Linked DNA regions of Homo sapiens: regions 1 and 3 are each linked to region 2. Evidence: promoter capture Hi-C in human tissues and cell types (Jung and others, 2019). All regions are on one chromosome and are shown on one strand. The core of a region is centred on a gene start or on the middle of the fragment in contact, and the rest is flanking DNA. Distances in the headings are between cores, read along the strand shown.

Evidence for each region. The method cuts DNA at HindIII sites, captures the fragments that hold promoters and counts their contacts. A contact is called where the count stands out against the background at its distance.
Region 1: a contact is called between a fragment that was not itself captured here and the fragment with the promoter of TAF1L in region 2, in 10 of the 25 tissues and cell types used here (H1 embryonic stem cells, IMR-90 fibroblasts, adrenal gland and 7 more).
Region 3: a contact is called between a fragment that was not itself captured here and the fragment with the promoter of TAF1L in region 2, in 3 of the 25 tissues and cell types used here (adrenal gland, dorsolateral prefrontal cortex and mesendoderm cells).

Annotation. Positions count from the first base shown.
Region 1 is chr9:32,667,079-32,670,946 of GRCh38, reverse strand. No RefSeq gene overlaps it. Among named protein-coding and RNA genes, the nearest start is that of TAF1L, 33 kb to the right of the region's middle. The HindIII fragment of the contact is 3,952 bases long and covers 1-3,459 here.
Region 2 is chr9:32,632,517-32,636,950 of GRCh38, reverse strand. TAF1L (TATA-box binding protein associated factor 1 like) reads left to right here and starts at 1,282. Exons shown (of 1, transcript NM_153809.2): 1 at 1,282-4,434. The coding sequence starts at 1,372. The HindIII fragment of the contact is 9,470 bases long and covers 1-4,434 here.
Region 3 is chr9:32,688,265-32,692,457 of GRCh38, reverse strand. All of the region lies in intron 5 of LOC105376017 (a long non-coding RNA gene), which reads left to right. Among named protein-coding and RNA genes, the nearest start is that of TAF1L, 55 kb to the right of the region's middle. The HindIII fragment of the contact is 5,325 bases long and covers 170-4,193 here.

The DNA.
Region 1 (3,868 bases), core at 234-2,733, 34 kb before region 2:
CCCCCATTCTATTTATATGGCAGAGACTTAATCTTGATGTTAGGGATTTTCTATTACTCTCTCCATCCCAGGGGATTGTGTCTCAGTTCTGAGCTGGGGCACCAGATGTAATAGGAAACATCCCATCTTCTATGCCTTTGGTCCACCAAGGCATCTGCTGAGATCCAACCTTCATGCCATTGGGTCCTTAGCTGTGGACCATACGTGTCACACTGAGCTTTCCATCTGCTGGTCCTGGCCTCAGCACACTTCCCACAAACATCAGGCCTGTCGGAAGACATCCTTAGCCATGGACCACACATGTCACCCCTGAGCTGTCCATCTGCTGGTCCTGAGCTCAGCAGATCTCCCACTATCTTTACGATGAGTCTCTGGAGCTGCATGGGGCTCTGCATAAGCTAAAGCTTCACAGTCTTGCTGTCTTCCCAGGCCCCTTTGGCCCAGGAAAGGGGGTACAGGGCTCTTCTTGTTCAGGTCCACCATTTATTTTTTCAAGAAGAAGGTGGAAAGTTTCGGTTGGTGCAAACCTTTCTGATTTCAAATGTTGAAAATCAATTCATTTTGGAAAAGTATCACCGCAGGGCCAACAAAACACATCTGTGACTCAGTTTTGCCCTAAGCGCTACCACTTTGCAGCCTCTGTCCTAAAGGCTTAGAATTCTAGAAGCCAAAGCAGGGGTGACACCCCTCTTTTTAAAAATGTTACTTTAAGTTCTGGGATACAGAATGTGTGCAGGTTTGCTATATAGTTATACATGTGCCATGGTGGTTCCTGCACCTATCGACCCATCATCTAGGTTTTAAGCCCCACATGCATTAGGTATTTGTCCTAATGCTCTCCCTCTCCTTGTCCGCCACCCCCAACAAGCCCTGGTGTGTGCATCCATGTGTTCTCATTGCTTAACTTGCATCCATGTGTTCTCATTGTTTAAATCCCACTTATGAGTGAGAACATGCAGTGTTTGGTTTTCTGTTCCTGTGTTAGTTTGCTGAGGATGATGGCTTCCAGCTTCATCCATGTCCCTGCAAAGGACATGAACTCATTCTCTTTTATGTCTGCATAGTATTCCATGGTGTGTATGTACATTTTCTTTATCCAGTCTATCATTGATGGGCATTTGGGTTGGTTCCATGTCTTTGCTATTGTAAATAGTGCTGCAATAAACATACATGTGCATGTGTCTTTACAGTAGAATTATTTCTATTCCTTTGGGTATATACCCAGTAATGGGATTGCTGGGTCAAATGGTATTTCTGGTTCTAGAAACCTGAGGAATCACCACACTGTCTTCCACAATGGTTGAACTAATTTATAATCCCACCAACAGTGTAAAAGTGTTCCTATTTGTCTGCAACCTCACCAGCATCTATTGTTTCCTGACTTTTTAATAATTGCCATTCTGACTGGCATGAGATAGACACCGTTTTTTTCTGCTTTCAAATGTGTCATAACTCTTCCCAAGGCCATAAACTCAGAATTGTCTACTTACTTGAACAGAAGCAAAGGGCATAGGGGAGATATCTGGGGGCAAAACATTGGTTACTATTTCTAATTTATTATCCTTCTACACCTTGATGTTGAGCTTGTAAAAACAGATTCTATATTTTGAAAAAGTAAGCTTCTTCCATATCCAAGAAAAAAGACTTGTAATTGGACATATTTTTCAATAAAGTAATCCTACAAAGCAAATGTTTTCTATGGAATTGTAGAGCTTTATATTGGGTCTCTTGAATGATGTTTAAATCCAATCCCGGAGACTGGGTTATATGAATGAGACAACTGAAGCCCAGAGAGGTAAGTTGCTTGGCCTTGGTCACCTAGCAAGTCACTGCCAGCCAGATATGCAGTCTCTCTCAACTGTTTGTCTAGCACCTCCTCCCAGACAAGCCAAGGCCCATGGCACTACGCTCTGCTTGGAGTGGGAGTCGGATGTGGCACGGGAATGAGGGCGATGGTGGAATGCAGCACTTAAAGCCAAGTTAGGAAGACCCAAGAGGCAATGGCCCCAGGAGAAGTCAAGTCAAAGGGCACTGACAGCCCAAAGGCAGCCACCCCCAAAAGGGACCCAGGAAAGAGGAAGAATCAATGGACAGGCACCAGGTCAGAAACCAGGGAAATCAGCCCAGCAAACATTGGGCAGGACCCAGAGCTGTCATAGGACCCGAAGCTTTCTGTAGGGGGGCAGAGGCCTTGGGAAGATGGGTGGAAAGGCCCGTCAGTGAAACCAAAGCAACTAGGACACTTCGTACCATAGTTGGGAGGTGCCTCAAAGGGACACTTCTGCCAGAAAGATCTTAAAATAACTTCGAATTCAATTACTCTTCTTCTTAAGACTATCTAGGAATTTCCTGTTGCCTATAGGATAAAATTCTAACTTCAAGCTTGTCCAACCCGTGGGCCGTGGGCAGCATGCAGCCCAGGATGGCTTTGAATGTGGCCCAACACAAATTTGTAAACTTTCTTAAAACATTATGAGATTTTTCTGCAATTTTTTTTTTTGGCTCATCAGCTATCATTAGTGTTAGTGTGTTTTATGTGTGGCCCAAGATAATTCTTCTTCTTCCAGTATAGCCAAGGGAAACCGAAAGATTGGATACCCCTGTTCTAACTCTTTGTATGCCACATTCTTTATACCCCATGTACATTTCTAGTATCTTTCAATACCATTACCCAACCTTTTGATGCTCTAGCCCAAAGTGGTTTTTCACCCCAGTGGTTTTTCAGCACTATCACGACTTTCTAAGGTGCAGGAGAACCATGCAGAAGACTTGAAAAGACAGATTGCCGGATCTCCAACCCGAGTTTCTATTTCAGTAGATCTGGAATGGGCCCTGAAAATCTGTATTTCTTCTGGGTTCCCAGGTGATGCTGATGGTACTGGCACCATACTTTGAGAACCACTGTTCTATCCACTTGCTAGAATGTGCTGTGGGCCAGCAGCATCAGCATCACCTGGGAGCTTGTTAGAAACGCAGGTTCTCAGGCCCACCCCAGGCCTATTGGATTAGAATTTATACATGTGTATATATATATGTATATATAAAATTTCAATGGCTTTTGGGGTTTGGGGTTGCATGGATGAATTATATAGCAGTGAATTCTGAGATTCTAGTGCACTTATTATCCGAGTATTGTACATTGTACCCAATATGCAGTTTTTTATCCCTCACCTCCCTCCCCCTTCTGAGTCTCCAAAGTCCATTATATCACTCTGTATGCATTTGCAAACTCATAGCTTAGCTCCCACTTATAAGTGAGAACACATGGTTTTTGGTTTTCCATTTCTGAGTTACTTCACTTAGAATAATGGCCTCTAACTCCATCCAAGTTGCTACAAATAAAACATTATTTTGTTCCTTTTTATGGCCAAACAGTATTCCATGGTGTATATATACCACATTTTCTTAATCCATTCATTGGTCGATGGACACTTAGTTTTTTCCATATCTTTGCAATTGTGAATTGTGCTGCTATAAACATACATGTGTGTGTCTTTTTCATATAATAACTTCTTTCTCTTTGGGTAGATACCCAGTAGTGGGCTTGCTGGATTGAATGGTAGATCTATTTTTAGTTCAAAAGATCCTCAGGTGATTCTTATATTAAAATTTGAGAAGTACTGTTCTATACTGTTCTAGCCTAATTATTCTTGACTGTGGCTGCACCTTAGAACCACCCAGTGAGTCTTTTTTTTTTTTTTTTTTTTAGATGGAGTCTCGCTCTGTCGCCAGGCTGGAGTGCAGTGGAATGATCTTGGCTCACTGCAACCTCCGTCTCCCAGGTTCAAGCAATTCTCCTTTCTCTGCCTCCTGAGTAGCTGGGACTACAGGCATGTACTACCACGCCCAGCTAATTTTTTGTATTTTT
Region 2 (4,434 bases), core at 33-2,532:
TAAGTGTTAGAATGGATGTGGAGAGGTGAGAACTTTTATACACTGCTGTTAGGTATGTAAAATGGTACAACTACTTTGGAGAACAATTTAGTAATAGCAAGTGTAGTTGAAAAAGCATATATTGTAAAATCTAGTAATTCCACTCCTAGATGTATACCCTGGAGAATGTGTCCTACATATGCTCAAGGAATCATATACATTATTTATAAGAGGAACAATTTGGGAACAATTTAAATGAACAAACATAGGAACATAGATAAATTGTAGCATAACCATACTGTAGAACACTATAGAGCTATAAAAATAGAATTGAATGCATCAACATAGTTGAATATCATAAACATAAATTTTATCCAGAAAACATTCTGGCTAAGAGTACATACAGTAAGGTCGGGTTTGGTGGCTCTTGCCTGTAATCTCAGCACTTTGGGAGGCCAAAGTGGGAGGATTGCTTGAGGCCAGGAGGAGTTTAAGACCAGCTTGGCTAACATAGTGAGATCCCATCTCTTAAAAAAAAGGAAGGGGGAAAAAAAAAACGAGTACACACAGTAAGATGCCTTTTATACAAAATTGTAAAGCATGACAATGCTATAGATTATTTGGAGAAGCATACATATGCAGTTCATGTATAAAGAGATTTACAGAGGCTGGGTGCAGTGGCTCACGCCTGTAATCCCAGCACTTTCGGAGACAGAGACGGGCTGACCATCTGAGGTCAGGAGTTTAAGACTAGCCTGGCCAATATGGTGAAATCTTGTCTCCACTAAAAATACAAAAAATTAGCCAGGCATGGTGGCTCATGCCTGTAATCCCAGCTACTGTGGAGGCTGAGGCAGGAATCTCTTGAACTCCTGAGGTGGAGGTTTCAGTGAGCCGAGATTGTGCCACTGCACGCCAGCCTGGGGCGACAGAGCAAGACTTTGTCTCAAAAACCAGCAAACAGGCTGGGCGCGGTGGCTTACGCCTGTAATCCCAGCACTTTGGGAGGCCGAGGCAGGCGGTTCACGAGGTCAGGAGATCGAGAGGCTAACATGGTGAAACCCCGTCTCTACTGAAAATACAAAAAAAAAAAAATTAGCCAGGCGTGGTGGCGAGCGCCTGTAGTCCCAGCTACTCAGGAGGCTGAGGCAGGAGAATGGCGTGAACCCAGAAGGCAGAGCTTGCAGTGAGCCAAGATCGCGCCACTGCACTCCAGCCTGGGCGACGTTGCGAGACTCCGTCTCAAAAAAAAAAAAAAAAAAAAGTTTTGCGGGTTTTTCCCCCCGCCCCTTTGCCCCCTCCCCCCGCCTTTATTCAGCTTCCGGTAGACGCTGGTAGGGTAAGGGAGCTAAGTAGATCACTTCCGGGCGACTGTTGTTTTATTTCCGGTTTATGCGACCCGGCTGCGATTTGCTGCTGAGGGCAGCAGCTACCGTCACTGCCGCCATCATGTCAGACTCGGACAGCGAGGAAGATTCATCTGGAGGTGGCCCATTTACTTTAGCGGGTATCCTTTTCGGCAACATCAGTGGAGCGGGGCAGCTGGAGGGGGAAAGCGTCTTGGATGATGAGTGTAAGAAGCACTTGGCAGGCTTGGGGGCTTTGGGGCTGGGCAGCCTAATCACTGAACTCACGGCAAATGAAGAATTGACTGGGACTGGCGGTGCCTTGGTAAATGATGAAGGGTGGATTAGGAGTACAGAAGATGCTGTAGACTATTCAGACATCAATGAGGTGGCAGAAGATGAAAGCCAAAGACACCAGCAGACGATGGGGAGCTTGCAGCCCCTTTACCACTCGGATTATGATGAAGATGACTATGATGCTGATTGTGAAGACATTGATTGCAAGTTGATGCCTCCTCCACCTCCACCCCCGGGACCAATGAAGAAGGATAAGGACCAAGATGCTATTACCTGTGTGTCTGAAAGTGGAGAAGACATCATCTTGCCCTCCATCATTGCCCCTTCCTTTTTGGCCTCAGAGAAAGTGGATTTCAGTAGTTACTCTGATTCAGAATCTGAGATGGGACCTCAGGAAGCAACACAGGCAGAATCTGAGGATGGAAAGCTGACCCTTCCATTGGCTGGGATTATGCAGCATGATGCCACCAAGCTGTTGCCAAGTGTCACCGAACTTTTTCCAGAATTTCGACCTGGAAAAGTGTTACGCTTCCTACATCTTTTTGGACCAGGGAAGAATGTCCCATCTGTTTGGCGGAGTGCTCGGAGAAAGAGGAAGAAGCATCGTGAGCTGATACAGGAAGAGCAGATCCAGGAGGTGGAATGCTCAGTAGAATCAGAAGTCAGCCAGAAGTCTTTGTGGAACTATGACTATGCTCCACCACCACCCCCAGAGCAGTGTCTCGCTGATGATGAAATCACGATGATGGTTCCTGTGGAGTCCAAATTTTCCCAATCAACTGGAGATGTAGATAAAGTGACAGATACCAAACCAAGAGTGGCTGAGTGGCGTTATGGGCCTGCCCGACTGTGGTATGATATGCTGGGTGTCTCCGAAGATGGCAGTGGGTTTGACTATGGCTTCAAACTGAGAAAGACACAACATGAACCTGTGATAAAATCTAGAATGATGGAGGAATTTAGGAAACTTGAGGAAAGCAATGGCACTGATCTTCTGGCTGACGAAAACTTCCTGATGGTGACACAGCTGCATTGGGAGGATTCTATCATCTGGGATGGGGAGGATATCAAACACAAAGGGACAAAACCTCAGGGTGCAAGCCTGGCAGGCTGGCTTCCTTCTATTAAGACTAGGAATGTAATGGCTTACAATGTTCAGCAAGGTTTTGCACCCACTCTGGATGATGACAAACCTTGGTACTCCATTTTTCCCATTGACAATGAGGATCTGGTGTATGGACGCTGGGAGGACAATATCATTTGGGATGCTCAGGCCATGCCCCGGCTGTTGGAACCTCCTGTTTTGGCACTTGATCCCAATGATGAGAACCTCATTTTGGAAATTCCTGATGAGAAGGAAGAGGCCACCTCTAACTCCCCCTCCAAGGAGAGTAAGAAGGAATCATCTCTGAAGAAGAGTCGAATTCTCTTGGGCAAAACAGGTGTCATCAGGGAGGAACCACAGCAGAACATGTCTCAGCCAGAAGTGAAAGATCCATGGAATCTCTCCAATGATGAGTATTATTTCCCCAAGCAACAGGGTCTTCGGGGCACCTTTGGAGGGAATATTATCCAGCATTCAATTCCTGCTATGGAATTATGGCAGCCCTTCTTTCCCACCCACATGGGGCCCATCAAAATCCGGCAGTTCCATCGCCCACCTCTGAAAAAGTACTCATTTGGTGCACTCTCTCAGCCAGGTCCCCATTCAGTCCAACCTTTGCTAAAGCACATCAAAAAAAAGGCCAAGATGAGAGAACAAGAGAGGCAAGCCTCAGGTGGTGGAGAGTTGTTTTTTATGCGCACACCTCAGGATCTCACAGGCAAAGATGGAGATCTTATTCTTGCAGAATATAGTGAGGAAAATGGACCCTTAATGATGCAGGTTGGCATGGCAACCAAGATAAAGAACTATTATAAACGGAAACCTGGCAAAGATCCTGGAGCACCAGATTGTAAATATGGGGAAACTGTTTACTGCCATACATCTCCTTTCTTGGGCTCTCTCCATCCTGGCCAATTACTGCAGGCACTTGAGAACAACCTTTTTCGTGCTCCAGTGTATCTTCATAAGATGCCAGAAACTGATTTTCTGATCATTCGGACAAGACAGGGTTACTATATTCGGGAATTAGTGGATATTTTTGTGGTTGGCCAGCAGTGTCCCTTGTTTGAAGTTCCTGGGCCTAACTCCAGAAGGGCCAATATGCATATTCGAGACTTTCTACAGGTTTTTATTTACCGCCTTTTCTGGAAGAGTAAAGATCGGCCACGGAGGATACGAATGGAAGATATAAAAAAAGCCTTTCCTTCCCATTCAGAAAGCAGCATCCGGAAGAGGCTAAAGCTCTGCGCTGACTTCAAACGCACAGGGATGGATTCAAACTGGTGGGTGCTTAAGTCTGATTTTCGTTTACCAACGGAAGAAGAGATCAGAGCTAAGGTGTCACCAGAGCAGTGCTGTGCTTATTATAGCATGATAGCTGCAAAGCAACGACTGAAGGATGCTGGCTATGGTGAGAAATCCTTTTTTGCCCCAGAAGAAGAAAATGAGGAAGATTTCCAGATGAAGATTGATGATGAAGTTCACGCTGCTCCTTGGAACACCACAAGGGCCTTCATTGCTGCCATGAAGGGCAAGTGTCTCCTAGAGGTGACTGGGGTGGCAGATCCCACAGGGTGTGGTGAAGGATTCTCCTATGTGAAGATTCCAAATAAACCAACACAGCAGAAGGATGATAAAGAGCCACAGGCAGTGAAGAAGACAGTGACAGGAACAGATGCAGACCTTCGTCGCCTTTCCCTGAAAAAT
Region 3 (4,193 bases), core at 1,583-4,082, 54 kb before region 2:
CACCATTTATTGAAGAGACTGTCTTTTCTTCAGTGTATGTTCTTGGCACCTTTGTCGAAAATGTGTTCACTGTAGGTGTATGGATTTGTTTCTGGATTCTCTATTCTGTTCCATTGGTCTATGTGTCTATTTTTATGCCAGTACCATGCTGTTTTGGTTACTGTAGCCCTGCAGTAACCAAAAGTAGTACTACAGTACTATAGCTATGTAGTAATTTGAAGCCAGGTAATGTGATTCCCCCAGTTTTTTTCTCTTTGCTTAGGATGGGTTTGGCTATTCTGTCTTTTTTGTTTGTTTGTTTTTTGTTTTTTGTGGTTCCATATAAATTTTAGGATTTTTGTTCTATTTCTGTGAAGAATGTCATTGGTATTTTGATAGGGATTGCATTGAATCTGTAGATTGCTTTGGTAGTATGGACATTTTAACAATATTGATTCTTTCAATCCATAAACATTGAATATTTTTCCATTTTTTGTTCACTTTAATTTCTTTCATCTATATTTTATAGTTTTCATTATAGAGATCGTTCACTTCTTTTTTTGCTGTTTACTTTTTTATTAGTACAGATAATAATATTACAGCTTACAAAATGAATTTCTAAGCTTTACTAGTTATGTTATAATCAGTAGATACTAAAAATTCCAAGAAATAAATGACTTTTTTCTTCTTTCTATAACCTCTCCAATCTTTAAAACTTAACTGATGGTTAACGTACTGTAAATAGTTCCAACATCATCATATTGTTTTTGTGTTTTGGATTTGCATGAAAGAACAATAATGATGAAACTCATTCCAATCATAATGTTTATGTTTAATACTGTGAGGAGTTGTACTTTTTTTAGCCCATTGAGCACTGAAGCTCAATTTTAGTGTACAGATCAAGACAAAATCATAACCTTTTAAATGTGTTGCTATATACTATTAATGGCATTATATTAAAATAACTTTGGGCATCAGAGTAGATCAATCTACTTTGGAGGTATGGGCTGAAAATGTTTATAAAATGTTTTATTAAAGTGATTAATAATGAAATATAAATAATTACAGATATTTTCATTGTTCTTTTTATACAGAAGATACACAGAAACTATGATGCAGATTGACTTAGATCAAGGCCATGCTATGTGTGTAATACACTGGTATTATGATATAGATATAAATGACTGTACTTAGTTTTGGTAGAGTGGTTGCCACAAAAATGTTTATCATTTTTGTCAACGAAGGTCAACACATAAAGGCCTGCTCATTTTTTAAATGGAGGTTGAGGTAATGTTATAAATGTGAATTTAAAAGACAGGTTGATGGTCTGATAGGTTTAGATTAGGGAGGAGGCTGTATCCAGCAGAGAACAGCATAAGGAAAGCAAAAGGCACATACTGGGAATCAAGTTTAATAGTTCAGGATACCTGCTCATTGGTAAATAGTGAAATGCAAGGCTAGAATTCTGGGGTAACCTGGCTTGGTAATGATATATATCTATCTATATCTATATATATCACCTTCTGTCATTATATATATATTGAGATGGAGTCTTGCTCTGTTGCCTAGGTTGGAGTGCAGTGGCACTATCTCCACTCACTGCAACCTCCACCTCCCAGGTTCAAGCAATTCTCCTGCTTCAGACTCCCGAGTAGCTGGGATTACAGGCACCCACCACCATGCTCGGCTAATTTTTGTATTTTAGTAGAGATGAAGTTTCACTATGTTGGCCAGGCTGGTCTCGAACTCCTAACCTCAAGTGATCTGCCCACCTTGGCATCCCAAAGTGCGGGATTACAGGCATAAACCACTGTGCCCAGCCAATAATGATAATTATAACGAGAAATAAGCCTTTTAAAGGTTAAGAAAGAGTCACTGAAGTATGATAAATGAAACTAGGAGTCATTAATTTGTTTCCAATTTACCAGATTGGAAGTGAATGGGACTGTTGACATTGGGAAGAGAAAAGGCCTAGTTATCCCATTACTAGTAGTATCGAAACATAGAGGCTGCAGCTACTACAAGGAGAACTGCGTATCTTAGTAGGAAGAGAGGAGGTGATAAGTACAGAGCCTTTCTCTCTTCTCCATCCTGCCCTTATGCCACTGCCAACCTTTTACTCTAAATAACATCTCAGTCTACCCGAGCAAGAATACATTGCTTTGGATATGGCACATTAAGAAAATGAACATGGTTTTACAGCATGGGACACAATTTTTTTTTTATACTTTAAGTTTTAGGGTACATGTGCACCACATGCAGGTTTGTTACATATGTACACATGTGCCATGTTGGTGTGCTGCACCCATTAACTCGTCATTTAGCATTAGGTATATCTCCTAATGCTATCCCTCCCCACTCCCCCCACTCCACAACAGTCCCCGGTGTGTGATGTTCCCCTTCCTGTGTCCATGTGTTCTCATTGTTCAATTCCCACCTATGAGTGAGAACATGTGGTGTTTGGTTTTTTGTCCTTGCGATAGTTTGCTGAGAATGATGGTTTCCAGCTTCATCCATGTCCCTACAAAGGATATAAACTCATCCTTTTTTATGGCTGCATAGTATTCCATGGTGTATATGTGCCACATTTTCTTAATCCAGTCTATCATTGTTGGACATCTGGGTTGGTTCCAAGTCTTTGCTATTGTGAATAGTGCCGCAATAAACATACGTGTGTATGTGTCTTTATAGCAGCATGATTTATAATCCTTTGGGTATATACCCAGTAATGGGATGGCTGGGTCAAATGGTATTTCTAGTTCTAGATACCTGAGGGATCGCCACACTGACTTCCACAATGGTTGAACTAGTTTACAGTCCCACCAACAGTGTAAAAGTGTTCCTATTTCTCCACATCCTCTCCAGCACCTGTTGTTTCCTGACTTTTTAATGATCGCCATTCTAACTGGTGTGAGATGATATCTCATTGTGGTTTTGATTTGCATTTCTCTGATGGCCAGTGATGATGAGCATTTTTTCTGTGTTTTTTGGCTGCATAAATGTCTTCTTTTGAGAAGTGTCTGTTCATATCCTTCACCCACTTTTTGATGGGGTTGTTTGTTTTTTTCTTGTAAATTTGTTTTGAGTTCATTGTAGATTCTGGATAATAGTCCTTTGTCAGATGAATTGGTTGCAAAAATTTTCTCCCATTCTGTAGGTTGCCTGTTCACGCTGATGGTAGTTTCTTTTGCTGTGCAGAAGCTCTTTAGTTTAATTAGATCCCATTTGTCAATTTTGGCTTTTGATGCCATTGCTTTTGGTGTTTTAGACATGAAGTCCTTGCCCATGCCTATATCCTGAATGGTATTGCCTAAGTTTTCTTCTAGGCTTTTTATGGTTTTAGGTCTAATATTTAAGTCTTTAATCCATCTTGAATTAATTTTTGTATAAGGTGTAAGGAAGGGATCCAGTTTCAGCTTTCTACATATGGCTAGCCAGTTTTCCCAGCACCATTTATTAAATCGAGAATCCTTTCCCCGTTTCTTGTTTTTGTCAGGTTTGTCAAAGATCAGATAGTTGTAGATATGTGGAATTATTTCTGAGGGCTCTGTTCTGTTCCATTGGTCTATATCTCTGTTTAGATACCAGTAGCATGCTGTTTTGGTTACTGTAGCCTGAAGTCAGGTAGCCTGATGCCTCCAGCTTTGTTCTTTTGGCTTAGGACTGACTTGGCAATGTGGGCTCTTTTTTGGTTCCATATGAACTTTAAAATAGTTTTTTCCAATTCTGTGAAGAAAGTCATTGGTAGCTTGATGGGGATGGCATTGAATCTATAAATTACCTTGGGCAGTATGGCCATTTTCACGATATTGATTCTTCCTACCCATGAGCATGGAATGTTCTTCCATTTGTTTGTAATCCTCTTTTATTTCATTGAGCAGTGGTTTGTAGTTCTCCTTGAAGAGGTCCTTCACATCCCTTGTAAGTTGGATTCCTAGGTATTTTATTCTCTTTGAAGCAATTGTGAATGGGAGTTCACTCATGATTAGGCTCTCTGTTTGTCCGTTATTGGTGTATAAGAATGCTTGTGATTTTTGTACATTGATTTTGTATCCTGAGACTTTGCTGAAGTTGCTTATCAGCTTAAGGAGATTTTGGGCTGAGATGATCGGGTTTTCTAGATATACAGTCATGTCATCTGCAAACAGGGATAATTTGACTTCCTCTTTTCCTAATTGGATGCCCTTTATTTCCTTCTCCTGCCTGATTGCCCA